2 separate regions of the Homo sapiens genome follow, and region 1 is linked to region 2. Evidence: promoter capture Hi-C in human tissues and cell types (Jung and others, 2019). All regions are on one chromosome and are shown on one strand. The core of a region is centred on a gene start or on the middle of the fragment in contact, and the rest is flanking DNA. Distances in the headings are between cores, read along the strand shown.

Region 1 (5,623 bases), core at 453-2,952, 160 kb after region 2:
GAAAGTAGGCCCTCACCCCATTGATCTTGGCCTTCCCAACCTCCAGAACTGTGAAAAATAAGTTTCTGTTGCGTATAAGATACTCAGTCTAAAGTATTTCGTGATAGCAGCCCAAATAAATGAAGACAATTGCCATGATAAACACCAACTTCACGGTAGTGGCCACTTCTGGGTAGAGAGGGAGGGGAATGGGATGGAAGAACAGTACATAGGAAATTGCAATGGTATTTGTAACAGTTTTTTTCTGGAATTAGGTAGTATGTACATGGGTGCCTACTATCATATACTGTACTTTTTCTTGAGATATAATTAACATATAAAATTAATCATTTTAAAGTGTGCAATTTAGTTGGTTTTTAGTATATCCACAAAGTTGTGAAACCATCACCACTCTCTAATTCCAGAACATTTCATCACCCCCAAAAAGAAATCCCATGCCTATTGAAACTGCCTTTGCAAAATTATGACTGAGACAGTGAAAGAGATCTAACTTAATCGACTCTACATGCTTCTAACCTCCAAGCTGTCCTTGTTCATTCCTAGGCATAGACTGAACTAACTTTGGGAGAAACTTAGTTTATAGTTTTTATAGGTTTTTTTTGTTTTTGTTTTGATACGGAGTCTCACTCTGTCACCCAGGCTGGGGTTCAATGGCATGACCTCGGCTCACTGCAACCTCCACCTCCTGGGTTCAAGCGATTCTTCTGCCTCAGCCTCCTGAATAGCTGGGATTACAGGTGCCCACCACCACACCCGGTTAATTTTTGTATTTTTGGTAGAGGCAGCATTTCACCATGTTGGCCAGGCTGGTCTCAAACTCCTGACCTCAAGTGATCCACCTGCCTCAGCCTCCCAAAGTGCTGGGATTACAGGCATGAGCCACCGTGCCTGGACGTAGTTTATAGTTTAAAACAAAGACGATAACAGCCCTTTCCAAAAGCAGACCTCTTTCTTGCCTGGAGACTAGATTGCCTTCGTAGGACTAATATTAGCCATAAGATTAGAAATTAAGGTTTAGGAGTCATGCAGCTGGAGGCTACAAGATTCTGACCCTCTCTAAACTGCTCCTAAGATCAATGCTTGAGATATTTTGCAGACCTGCACTTGATGGATCAGCTGGCACCACCCAGATTGATAAACTGGCTCATCTGATCTCGTGACCCCCATCCAGGAAGTGACTCAGCTCAAGAAGACAGCTTCGACTCCCTGTGATTTCATCCCTGACCATTCAGCACTCCTGGCTCACTGGCTTCCCCCAACCCACCAAGTCGTCCTTAAAAATTCTGCTCCCCGAATGCTTGGGGAGACTGATTTGAGTAATTATAAAACTCTGGTATCCCGCACAGCCGGCTCTGCATGAATTACTCTTTCTCTATTGCAATTTCTCTGTCTTGATAAATCGGCTCTGTCTTGGCAGTGGGCAAGGTGAGCACACTGGGCAGTCACACTATTAACCGTTATTCCCCATTCCCAACTTCCTACTATCCCTTGGCAACCACTAATCTACTTTCTGTCTTGATTTATTCATATAAATGGATCATACAATATATGTTATTTTGTGATTGGTTTCCCTCATTTAGCGTAAGATTTTCAAGGTTCATCCATGTTGTAGTGTGAATCAGTGTTATTCCTTTTTATGGCTGAATAATAGTCCACTGTATGGATATACCACATTTTGTTTAGCTATTCGTCAGTGGATGGACATCTGGGTTGTTTCTACCTGCTGGCTATAAGAAATAATAACACGATAAACATTGTGTACAAGTTTTTGTGTGAACGTACATTTTCTTTCTTTTTTTTTTGAGACGAAGTCTCATTCAGTCACCCAGGCTGGAGTGCAGTGGTGCAATCTCGGCTCACATCTCAGCTCACTGCAAGCTCTGCCTCCCGAGTTCAAGTGATTCTTCTGCCTCAGCCTCCCGAGTAGCTGGGAGGCATGCACCAACACTCCTGGCTAATTTTTTTGTATTTTTAGTAGAGATGGGGTTTCACCATGTTGGCCAGGCTGGTCTCAAACTCCTGACCTCAGGTGATCCACCCACCTCGGTCTCTCAAAATGCTGGGAATACAGGCGTGAGCCACCACAGCCAGTGCCCCCCACCTCCCTTTTTTTTTTTTTTTTTTTTTTTTTTTTGAGACGGAGTTTTGCTCTTGTTGCCCAGGCTGGAGTGCAATGGCGAGATCTCAGCTCACCGCAACCTCTGCCTCCCAGGTTTAAGTGATTCTCCTGCCTCAGCCTCCCGAGTAGCTGGGATTACATGCATGTGCCACCATGCCCAGCTAATTTTATATTTTTAGTAGAGATGGGGTTTCTCCATGTTGGTCAGGCTGGTCTCAAACTCCTGACCTCAGGTGATCCGACCACTTCGGCCTCTCAAAGTGCTAGGATTACAGGCATGAGCTACCATGCCCAGCCTCCATTTTTGTTTTGTTTTGTTTTTTGTGTTTTTGTTTGTTTGTTTTGAGACAGTGTCTCACTCTGTCGCCCAGGCTAAAGTGCAGTGGCGTGATCTCTGCTCACTGCAACCTCCATCTCCCTGGTTCAAATGATTCTCCTGCCTCAGCCTCCCGAGTAGCTGGGCTTACAGGTGCCTGACACCACGCCCAGCTAATTTTTGTATTTTTAGTACAGACGGGGTTTCATCTTGTTGGCCAGGCTGGTCTCGAACTCCTGACCTCTAGTGATCTGCCCACCTTGGCTTCCCAAAGTGCTGGGATTACAGGCGTGAGCCACTGTGCCCCGCCTATGAACATACATTTTCATTTCTCTTGGATATACGCCTAGCAGTGGAATTGCTGGGTCATGTGGTAACTCTGTTTTACTTTTTGAAGAACTTCAAAGCAGCGATACTATTTGACAGTCCCCCAGCAATATATGAAGGTTCACTTTCTTCACATCCTTACTAACATTTTTTTTTGAAACGGAGTCTTGCTTTGTCACTCAGGCTGGAGTGCAGTGGCTCGATTTCTGCTCACTGCAACCTCTGCCTCCCCGGTTCAAGTGATTCTCCTGCCTCAGCCTCCTGAGTAGCTGGGATTACAGGCGCACACCACCATGCCCAGCTAATTTTAAAAATATTTTTAGTAGAGACAGGGTTTCACCATGTTGGTGAACATGATGAGAACATTTCCAGGGGAAAACCATTTCCCTTCTGGCTCCCCAACTCCCCCATCTGCTGAGAGCTAGTTCTACTCAATAAAACCTTGCACTCATTCTCCAAGCCCACATGTGATCCAGTTCTTCCAGGTACAACAAGGCAAGAAACCCCAGGATACAGAAATCCCTCTGTCCTTGTGGTAAGGAAGGGGGTTTAATTGAGCTGGTTAACACAAGCCGCCTATAGATGGCAACCTAAAAGAGCACCCTATAACACACGCCCATTGGGGCTTCAGCTGTAAACATTCACCCCTAGACACTGCTGTGGGGTCGGAGCCCCACAGCCTGCCCATCTGTATGCTCCCCTAGAGGTTTGAGCAGCAGGGCACTGAAGAAGCAAGCCACACCCCCATTGCACACCCTTCGAGGGTTCCTGTTTCACCGTCTCTACAAAAAATTTTTAAATATTAGCCAGGTGTGGTGGTGTGTGCCTGTAGTCCTAGCTACCCAGGAGGCTGAGGTGGGAGGATCACTTGTGCCTGGGAGGTTGAGGCTGCAGTGAGCTATGATCCCAACACTGTACTCTGTCTCAAACAAACAAACAAAAATAAATACAAACGTTGTATGATTCCACTCATATGAAGTATCTAGAATAGGTAAATTCGTAGAGACAGAAATTAAAATAAATAGAGGTTACCAGAGGCTGAGGGAAGGGGAAAATGGGGAATGTTGTTTAATGGGTACAGAGTGTCTGTTTGGGATGATGAAAAAGTTCTGGAAATAGGAAGTGGTGATGATTACACTACTTTGTGAATGAACTTAATGTCACTGAATTGTATACTTAAAAATAGTTAAAATGGGTGAGGTGTGGTGGCTTACGTCTGTAATCCCAGCACTTTGGGAGGCCAAGGCTGGCAGATTACCTGAGATCGGGAGTTCGAGACCAGCCTGTCCAACATGGCGAAACCCCGTCTGTACTAAAAATACAAAAATTAGCTGGGCGTGGTGGCCCGTGCCTGTAATCCCAGCTACTCGGGAGGCTGAGGCAGGAGAATCGCTTGAAACCGGGAGGCGGAGGTTGTGGTGAGCCGAGATCGCACCACTGCACTCCAGCCTGGCGACAGAGGGAGGCTCTGTCTCAAAAAAAAAATTTTTTTTAAGTTTGCCGGGTGTGGTAGCTCACACCTGTAATCCCAGCACTTTGGGAGGCCGAGGCAGGCGGATCACGAGGTCAGGAGATTGAGACCATCTTGGCTAGCACAGTGAAACCCCGTCTCTACGAAAAATACAAAAAATTAGCCGGGCGTGGTGGCGGGTGCCTGTAGTCCCAGCTACTCGGGAGGCTGAGGCAGAAGAATGGCGTGAACCCAGGAGGCAGAGCTTGCAGTGAGCCGAGATCGCGCTACTGCACTCCAGCCTGGGTAACAGAGCGAGACTCCCTCTCAAAAAATAAAAAATAAAAAAAAAGTTAAAATGGGGCCGCCACCGCAGCGCCTGCAGAACTTTCGGGCCACGTCGCCGCCTCCTGCTGCTTCGCCTCCCAGGGCCCTCCCTCTCCTCCCCACGCCCTTCACTCCCCTCCGCCTTCCCTCCTGCTAGGCGGCCGGGAAGGAAGAAGAAATTCAGTCAGGATGGCTAAAGGTGACACCAAGAAACCAAAGGGAAAGATGTCTGCTTATGCCTTCTTTGTGCAGATGTGCAGAGAAGAACATAAGAAGAAAAACCCAGAGGTCCTTGTCAATTTTGCAGAATATTCCAGGAAGTGCTCCGAGAGGTAGAAGACCATGTCTGGGAAAGAGAAGTCTAAATTCAATGAAATGGCAAAGGCGGATAAAGTACACTATGATCGGGAAATGAAGGATTATGGACCAGCTAAAGGAGGCAACAAGAAGGATCCTAATGCCCCAAAAGGCTACTGTCTGGATTCTTCCTGTTCTGTTCAGAATTCTGCCCCGAGATCAAATCCACAAACCCTGGCATCTCTATTGGAGACGTGGCAAAAGAAAAAAAAAAGTTGGGTGAAATGTGGAATAGCTTAAATGACAGTGAAAAGCAGCCTTACTTCACTAAGGCGGCAAAGCTGAAGAAGTATGAGAAGGATGTTTCTGACTATAAGGCAAAAGGAAAGTTTGATGGTGCAAATGGTCCTGCTAAAGTTGCCCAGGAAAAGGTGGAAGAGGAAGATGAAGAAGAGGAGGAGGATGAGGAGGAATAAAGAAACTGTTTATCTGTCAAAAAATAGTTAAAATGATAAATTTTATGCTATGTATATTTTATCCATAAAAAAGTAAAGCTAAAGAATTAGGGAGCCCCTGCCAACTGGGAAATAAAAATTAAGCAGAAGCTGGGCACAGTGGCTCACACCTGTAATCCCAGCACTTTGGGAGGTCAAGGCAAGAGGATCATTTGATCCCAGGAGTTAGAGACCTGCCTGGGCAGCATAGTGAGACCCCCCCCCCCCATTTCTATAATTATAGAAATAAATAAAAATGTTAAAAAATTAAGCAGAGTAAAAACAAAAACACA
Region 2 (6,532 bases), core at 463-2,962:
TTGTGTGTTTGTGTGTATACTTGGTTGTGCCATAAAATGTATTCGTTACTGTAGGTCACAGTCATAAAAGTTTGAAAGACTCTGCTCTAAATAATTCGTATCAACAGGCCGGGCGTGGTGGCTCACGCCTGTAATCACAGCACTTTGGGAGGCCGAGGCGGATGGATAATGAGGTCAGGAGTTTGAGACCAGCCTGGCCAATACTGTGAAACCCCATCTCTACTAAAAATACAAAAAAAATTAGCCGCGCATGGTGGTGTGCGCCAGTAGTCCCAGCTACTTGAGAAGCTGAGGCAGAAGAATTGCTTGAACCTGGGAGGCAGAGGTTGCAGTGAGCTGAGATCACACCACTGCACTCCAGCCTGGGGGTCTGAGCGAATTCCGTCTCAAAATAATAATAATAATAATAATAATAATAATAATAATAATAATAATAATACGTATCATCTTCCTATTTGTAATCCTGAATTCAGAAAGTATTTAATATTTGCTGAATGAACAGATATTCCATTTACAATAACAGCTCATCAATTAGCCATTTTCCCTTGTGACATCTGTGTGCTCCTCCTTGATAATGACGTTTCTTTCATGCTAATTCCACCAGTCTGTAATTCTATTCACTATATCTCCAGCAGCTGGCACAGGGCCTAGCACAGAGGAGATGCTAGGAAAACGTTTATTAAATATGCATAGAACTCTGCAGTCTACCAGCCCCTGTCACTGACAGCTCTGTGAGTTCCTCACAGTCCTGGAACACCTAAAGTCACATCCATCCACTTCTCTCCACCACCTCCCTAATCCAAGCTACCATCGTCCCTCACTCAGAGTGCTTGCTCCTCAACCCATTCTCCATTCAACAGCAGTAACCTTTTCAAAATGCCAATCTAATCACAACACCACCCATGTCAGCTTCTGAGTGGTTTCCCATATGGTTCTTGAAAAACCAGAATTCTTCCTATTACCTACAAAGCCTGCACGGTCTGACTCCTGGCAACCCCTTTAGCTTGTGTCACACAATGGTCCCCCACAAGCTCTCTGTTCCAGCCACAACGGCCTCTTTCAGAACCTGAAATTGGAGGCTGTCTCCATATAGAAAACTCTTCCCTCCCCACTTTGTCAAATCCTTTTTTCTGATCTCAGCTCAATATTCACCTCCTCAGTAAAGGTTCCTTGCCCTGGGGCTAGGTCAGGTCTCCTGTGATATAATCTGGGGTGCCTTGTACCTTTCCGTCTCAATGATCACAACTGCAGTTTTGGATGTTTGATTGAAGGCTGTCATCGCCACGAGACTTGAGTCCTGCTGTATCCCTAGCACAGATTCAACGCTTAGTAAACATTTATTTAATACAAGTATGATATCCATTTTGTAAACGAGAAACAAAGCCTCAGTTCGGGGAAAGACCTTACTGGAAGTCACGCAGAGAGTAGGGCAGAGCCAGGTCGAGTGCAATCAGGGTCTCCGGCCCCCAGGCTCTAAAGTTAAGAAAACCGCGACGTAACTCTGGCGACGGCTTCTCAGGAAGGGCCTCCAGAGACACCAGCGTCCCACAAACAGAGAACCAGCCGCCCCGGCGAGGTGGGCCTAGTTCAAGGCACTCCGTGACTCTGAGCCGAGAAGAGGGGCGGCCCAGCCACACATACACAAGGAATCAGGAAAGGAAAAAGAGGCCAGGAGGCCACACTCACCGCCTCGCCCCACGTTCCGGTACAGCGGAAACGCACCGGAAGTTCTCCAGCTTTGGCGTCTGACTGGAGCGACGGGGGAAGCGGTCCGGCAGAGCCCTGGGTCGCGGGAAGAATGGCCCGTGCCTGCAGGTTCCGCCGGATGCAAGGTTGCCTTTTGTTATTCTTAGTTTCTCGTTTTAGCTTCTGAATTGTGAACAACTTTCATTAACCTATGCATTTTATATCCCCGTCCAGAAACACAGCCACCAGCCATCTTACTTTGGGCTCAAGCAGTCATGGTCACTAAAGCACAGCCAAGGCTTGTACCAGTGGCTACTATTCAGAAGTAGCCAGTCAGGCGCTCGGTCACTGTCTTTGTCAGCCAGTCTCTATCCCGGTCACAGTGTCTCAGCTTCCAGTCACACTCAGCCCTCGGGGAGAGCCTCAGAAACCCAGCCACCAGCCCAGAGAGAACCAGCGTCAGCCTCCGCTGCTGCAGCAGCAGCGGTCGCCACCTCAGTCCCTCTGGCCATTATCACCCCGTGTCCTTCCTGCAGGCCAAGTCCTAACATCTCAGTCAGGCTATCAACGCACTAGGGAAGGAATCTGCCTGTCTTGTTCCTCACTGTTTCCCTGGAACCGAGCACAAAGCCAGGCACAAAAGCTCAGCTGAGTACATATATTATGCATTTAATTAATAATGATGATAATTTGGTATTAATAAATAACTATTTGTGGGTCTAACCCTGCACTATTAATCAGGGTTCCACCAAAGATACAGAGCCAGTAGGAGATCTATATTAAGTGATTTATTGCCAAGAATTGGCTTATGTGATTTTAGGGCAGGCCACTTGGGTATTTCTTTTTTTGAGACGCAATCTCACTCTGTCACCCAGGCTGGAGTGCAATGGCGCTATCTCGGCTCACTGCAACCTCCACCTCCTGGGTTCAAGCCATTCTCCTGCCTCAGCCTCCCAAGTAGCTGGGATTACAGGCGCCCACCACCGTGCCTGGCTAATTTTTGTATTTTTAGTAGAGACGGGGTTTCATCTTGTTGGCCAGGCTGGTTTCGAACTCCTGACCTCAGGTGATCTGCCCACCTTGGCCTCTCAAAGTGCTGGGATTACAGGCATGAGCCACCGTGCCCGGCCCACTTGGGTATTTATAATCCTTGCACTAACCCTTGTAAGGTATGTGTATTCCCAATTTGCAGAAGAGAAAACTGAGGTTCAAAGAGATGTTACACAGCCAGAGAATGGCAGAGCTAGAATGCAAACCAAGGGCTGTCTGTTCTTATCTCTTGTGCTGCTGCTCCTTAGCTTGTCTGTCACATTTCCTCAGTGACAGCTGGACACGCCAATCTGTCTCGGTCAAAATTTATCTCTTAGTGGGTTGCAGACTAGACCGGGCCCTGCAGTCATGGTTAATCACAATGAGCTGCTGCAGGATTAACCAGAGACAGCCTCCATCAGTCACAGTCATGCTTACCAATCTCAGCCTGTCCTGTCAAGTTTCATCTCCTGCATGAAGAAGCTCAGCTCCCTCTCCACCCCTCCCCACTCCCAGTCTTAAGTGCTGAGCTCTATGGTCTGGTCTCAAAGCTCCCTGTTTCAGTTGGGCTCACCGTCTTTTCAGAGACTCCAGGACACTGAACACTGGTTGTAGAAGCTGTAAATGGTGGCCTAGGAGTCCCACCTTGTGGGTCACATGTCCATTTAGATCAGAATTTCTCAACCTTGGCACTATTGACATTTGGGGCCAGATAAGTATTTGTTGTATGTGGCTGTCCTGTGCATTGTAGGATGTTTAGCAGCAACCCTGGCGTCTACCCACTAGAGCTAGTAGCACCCCTCAGTTGTGACAACCATTGCTAAATGTCCCCGGGGCGGGGGTTGGGGGTAAAGGAGGAGGGGTCATTTCCCCACTCTCAATGCAGTTGAAAAACACTAATCTGGGTGAACTTACCTTTGATTATTCGACAAAAGCCGAGTCAGGATGGTCCTTTATGGGAGACAGAAATATGGATCAGGGTGTATGGGGTCCTGAGGAATCATATGAAGACCCATTGTTTGTAAACCAAGTCCTATTCCAGAACCCTAGGGATAACAGATTGCTAAAGGAGACCTATAGGGAAAATTCAGAGAAGGATTCATAATGTTCCTCGCAGCAATTGCCTCTGACAAGAGACAGAAATCTGGAGAAGGCTGAAGAATCACTTTTCACTGCATAGTCTTTGTATCATTTAATGAATTACCTTTCCAAAGAAAATAAGTATTTAGTATTTGAAAGTATACGGAAATGCTCAGGATATATATACGTGTATATAGATATATATGTACATATATATACATATATGTACATATATATATTTTAAAGTATTTACAAAAGTATGTACAAGATGACCAACTCTGGAAAAATACATACACATGGAAAAGACTCGCTGGTGAGATTTGCAGCAATAAAGGTGGGCTGAGGTGAGTTGCTTGGTGGAATAAAAGGAAAGTGTGGTGTGTGCACCTCAGGTGGTCCAAGGGATGAGTTTAGGTTTTAAGTGCATTGTGGTTGTTAATTTTAATATTTTTGCATTTATTTTATGAAGACCTCCTTTCTTGGCAAATAACATAAGCTTTTCATTTGTGGAAGTAATATAGTTTCCTTTTTAAATGCATTTGCTTTTAACGTGAGTCAATTTATTTAGTTAGTTATTTTATTTTATTATTTTTTTGAGACGGAGTCTCTCTCTGTCACCCAGGCTGGAGTGCAGTAGCACGATCTCGGCTCACTGCAACCTCCGCCTCCTGGGTTCAAGCGATTCTCCCGCCTCAGCCTCCCGAGTAGCTGGGATTACAGGTGTGCACCACCACACCCGGCTAATTTTTTGTATTTTTAGTAGAGATGGGATTTCACTATGTGGGCCAGGCTGGTCTTGAACTCCTGACCTCAGGTAATCTGCCTGCCTCAGCCTCTCAAAGTGCTGGGATTACAGGCGTGAGCCACTGCACTTGACCTGAGTCAATTTAAAGAAAAATAAGTGAATAATGGGACAGGTGGTATGAGGATATGGGAACATATATAGAGGTTCTGGGCAAAGGCCGAAGTTGAGGATTGCTGTATTTTTTCCCACTAGGCTCCCATGTAGGGGGGTTACAGGAAGAGAGACTCCAATGTAGGTACTCTTCTTTCAGGAGGAGGGACCATGCTGTTTCTCCGCTCAATAAGCCCCTCCACGTCCTGGGGCCTGTATGCTTACTGTTCCCTCTCCTAGAATGTGCACCAAAGTTCCTCGCCTTTGTTGATTGATCCTTCTTTTCATTCAGCTCACAGATCGCCTCCTCAGGGAGGCCTTACCTGGCCACTGTATTTAAAGTGGTCTCCTTCAGTGACCCTCCTTCCCTTCTCCCGGTGTATTTCCTTCCTAGTGCTGAGTGCTCTGTAACGGACTGTTTGCCTGTGTTGGCATCTGTTTCCTCCACTAGCCTGTGGGTTCATGAAGGGCAGGGACTTTTGTCTTGTTTGTGTTGTGCCTGGAGAGTCACCCAAGGCCTGGACCACCTTGAGTTCCAAATATTTGTTGCATAAACATGTTCTAAGTTGGGATGTCTCCACTTCAGTTTTAGCCCCTCCCACAGTGCCAACTTGTACCAGTGGCCAAAGTCAGAGAGAGACAGTGAGAGAGAGAGAGAGAGAGAGAGAGAGAGAGAGAGAGAGGAGAGGTGCCAAGGAAGTATGGTTCAGCATCAAACACATTTATTTCACTTATATTGAGTATACAAGAACAGAGAGCACACGCATACAGCACGGAGCACTGAGGTGGGGGAGCATGGGGACGAGAAAGGAGAGAAGGGTGTGAGTAAAAAGGAACAGGACAGCATCGCAATTGGTTGTTAAGGTGCTTTTGAAAAAAAAAATTATTTCGAGTGATGTTGCTCATGCAGTTTCAGGCCAGTCTTGGAATGTGCTTGCAGGATTCAAAAACTGAAACAGGTCCTGGTACTTCCTGTACCCTCAGATGGAAAAGATCCAGAGAAAACAAAATAAGAGAAAATGAAGACCCATGAGATAGCAAAGTAGAAAAAGACCCTGGAGAGCATCTGGTTCTTTCTGCTTATTTTGCAAGTCGGGAAACTGAGGCCCAAGAGGGGGAATGGGGATAGCCTGATGTCACATGGTGAGTTAGGAGCTGAGCCAGGATGGTCACCCAGAACTCCTAACCGCCCTCAGGGACTTTTTCCACTATGCTACATGGCCTCCTGGGTGGAGAGGTGGCACAGAGAGGATGAGAAACAAAAAAGAGAAAAGGAAAAGTAGGTTGAAGACAGACAAGACAAACGTCTCTATTCTCTACAAAGAGAAGGATGGGGAGGAAACAGTGCCCTAGATTCTAGCTTTGCAGGTCCCCTCCTCCCTCGTGGCACTGCCTGCATCTCCGTAGAAGGGAGGTCACAGCATCCGCGGGATGGTGATTTCCCCAAACCCTGGTGGCCCATAAACTCCACAAGCTAAGCCTGGTCACTTCACCCCTGCCCCAAAGCCAGGTGCAAAATCCACAACAAGGATCCTCCCTCTGAGGTGTGTTCAGTGTGCTCAGGACTCCTGGTTCCTGCAAAGATGAGTTCCTAGACCGAAGTGGCCCAGAGAGGATGGAGCCACCACTCCAGCTCTTGACCCAGAAAGAGGGGGAACTCTCAAGAAGGGCAGGAAGAAGGTTCTGTGGCTTTTCCACCAGGATTGTAGAAAGAACCTGGTGTATGGAAAGTGTGCTGCTACACTCAGGGGGAGTTGGAGTGGACCCACCGGCCTGCACCAGGGGGAATGCCACTGATTCTGCTGCCCCGCTGAACTTCCCATTTGCCCAGAGAAGCAAATG

What was found. The method cuts DNA at HindIII sites, captures the fragments that hold promoters and counts their contacts. A contact is called where the count stands out against the background at its distance.
Region 1: a contact is called between a fragment that was not itself captured here and the fragment with the promoter of AAR2 in region 2, in 1 of the 25 tissues and cell types used here (mesenchymal stem cells).

What each region holds. Positions count from the first base shown.
Region 1 is chr20:36,075,707-36,081,329 of GRCh38, reverse strand. It overlaps the pseudogene HMGB3P2. Among named protein-coding and RNA genes, the nearest start is that of NORAD, 28 kb to the right of the region's middle. The HindIII fragment of the contact is 7,705 bases long and covers 1-5,554 here.
Region 2 is chr20:36,231,658-36,238,189 of GRCh38, reverse strand. It overlaps AAR2 (AAR2 splicing factor), which reads right to left and starts at 1,712. Exons shown (of 4, transcript NM_001271874.2): 1 at 1,687-1,712. It overlaps LOC105372602 (a long non-coding RNA gene), which reads left to right and starts at 1,724. Exons shown (of 3, transcript XR_936695.2): 1 at 1,724-1,832. It overlaps EPB41L1 (erythrocyte membrane protein band 4.1 like 1), which reads right to left. Exons shown (of 22, transcript NM_012156.2): 22 at 5,391-6,532. The HindIII fragment of the contact is 11,137 bases long and covers 1-5,640 here.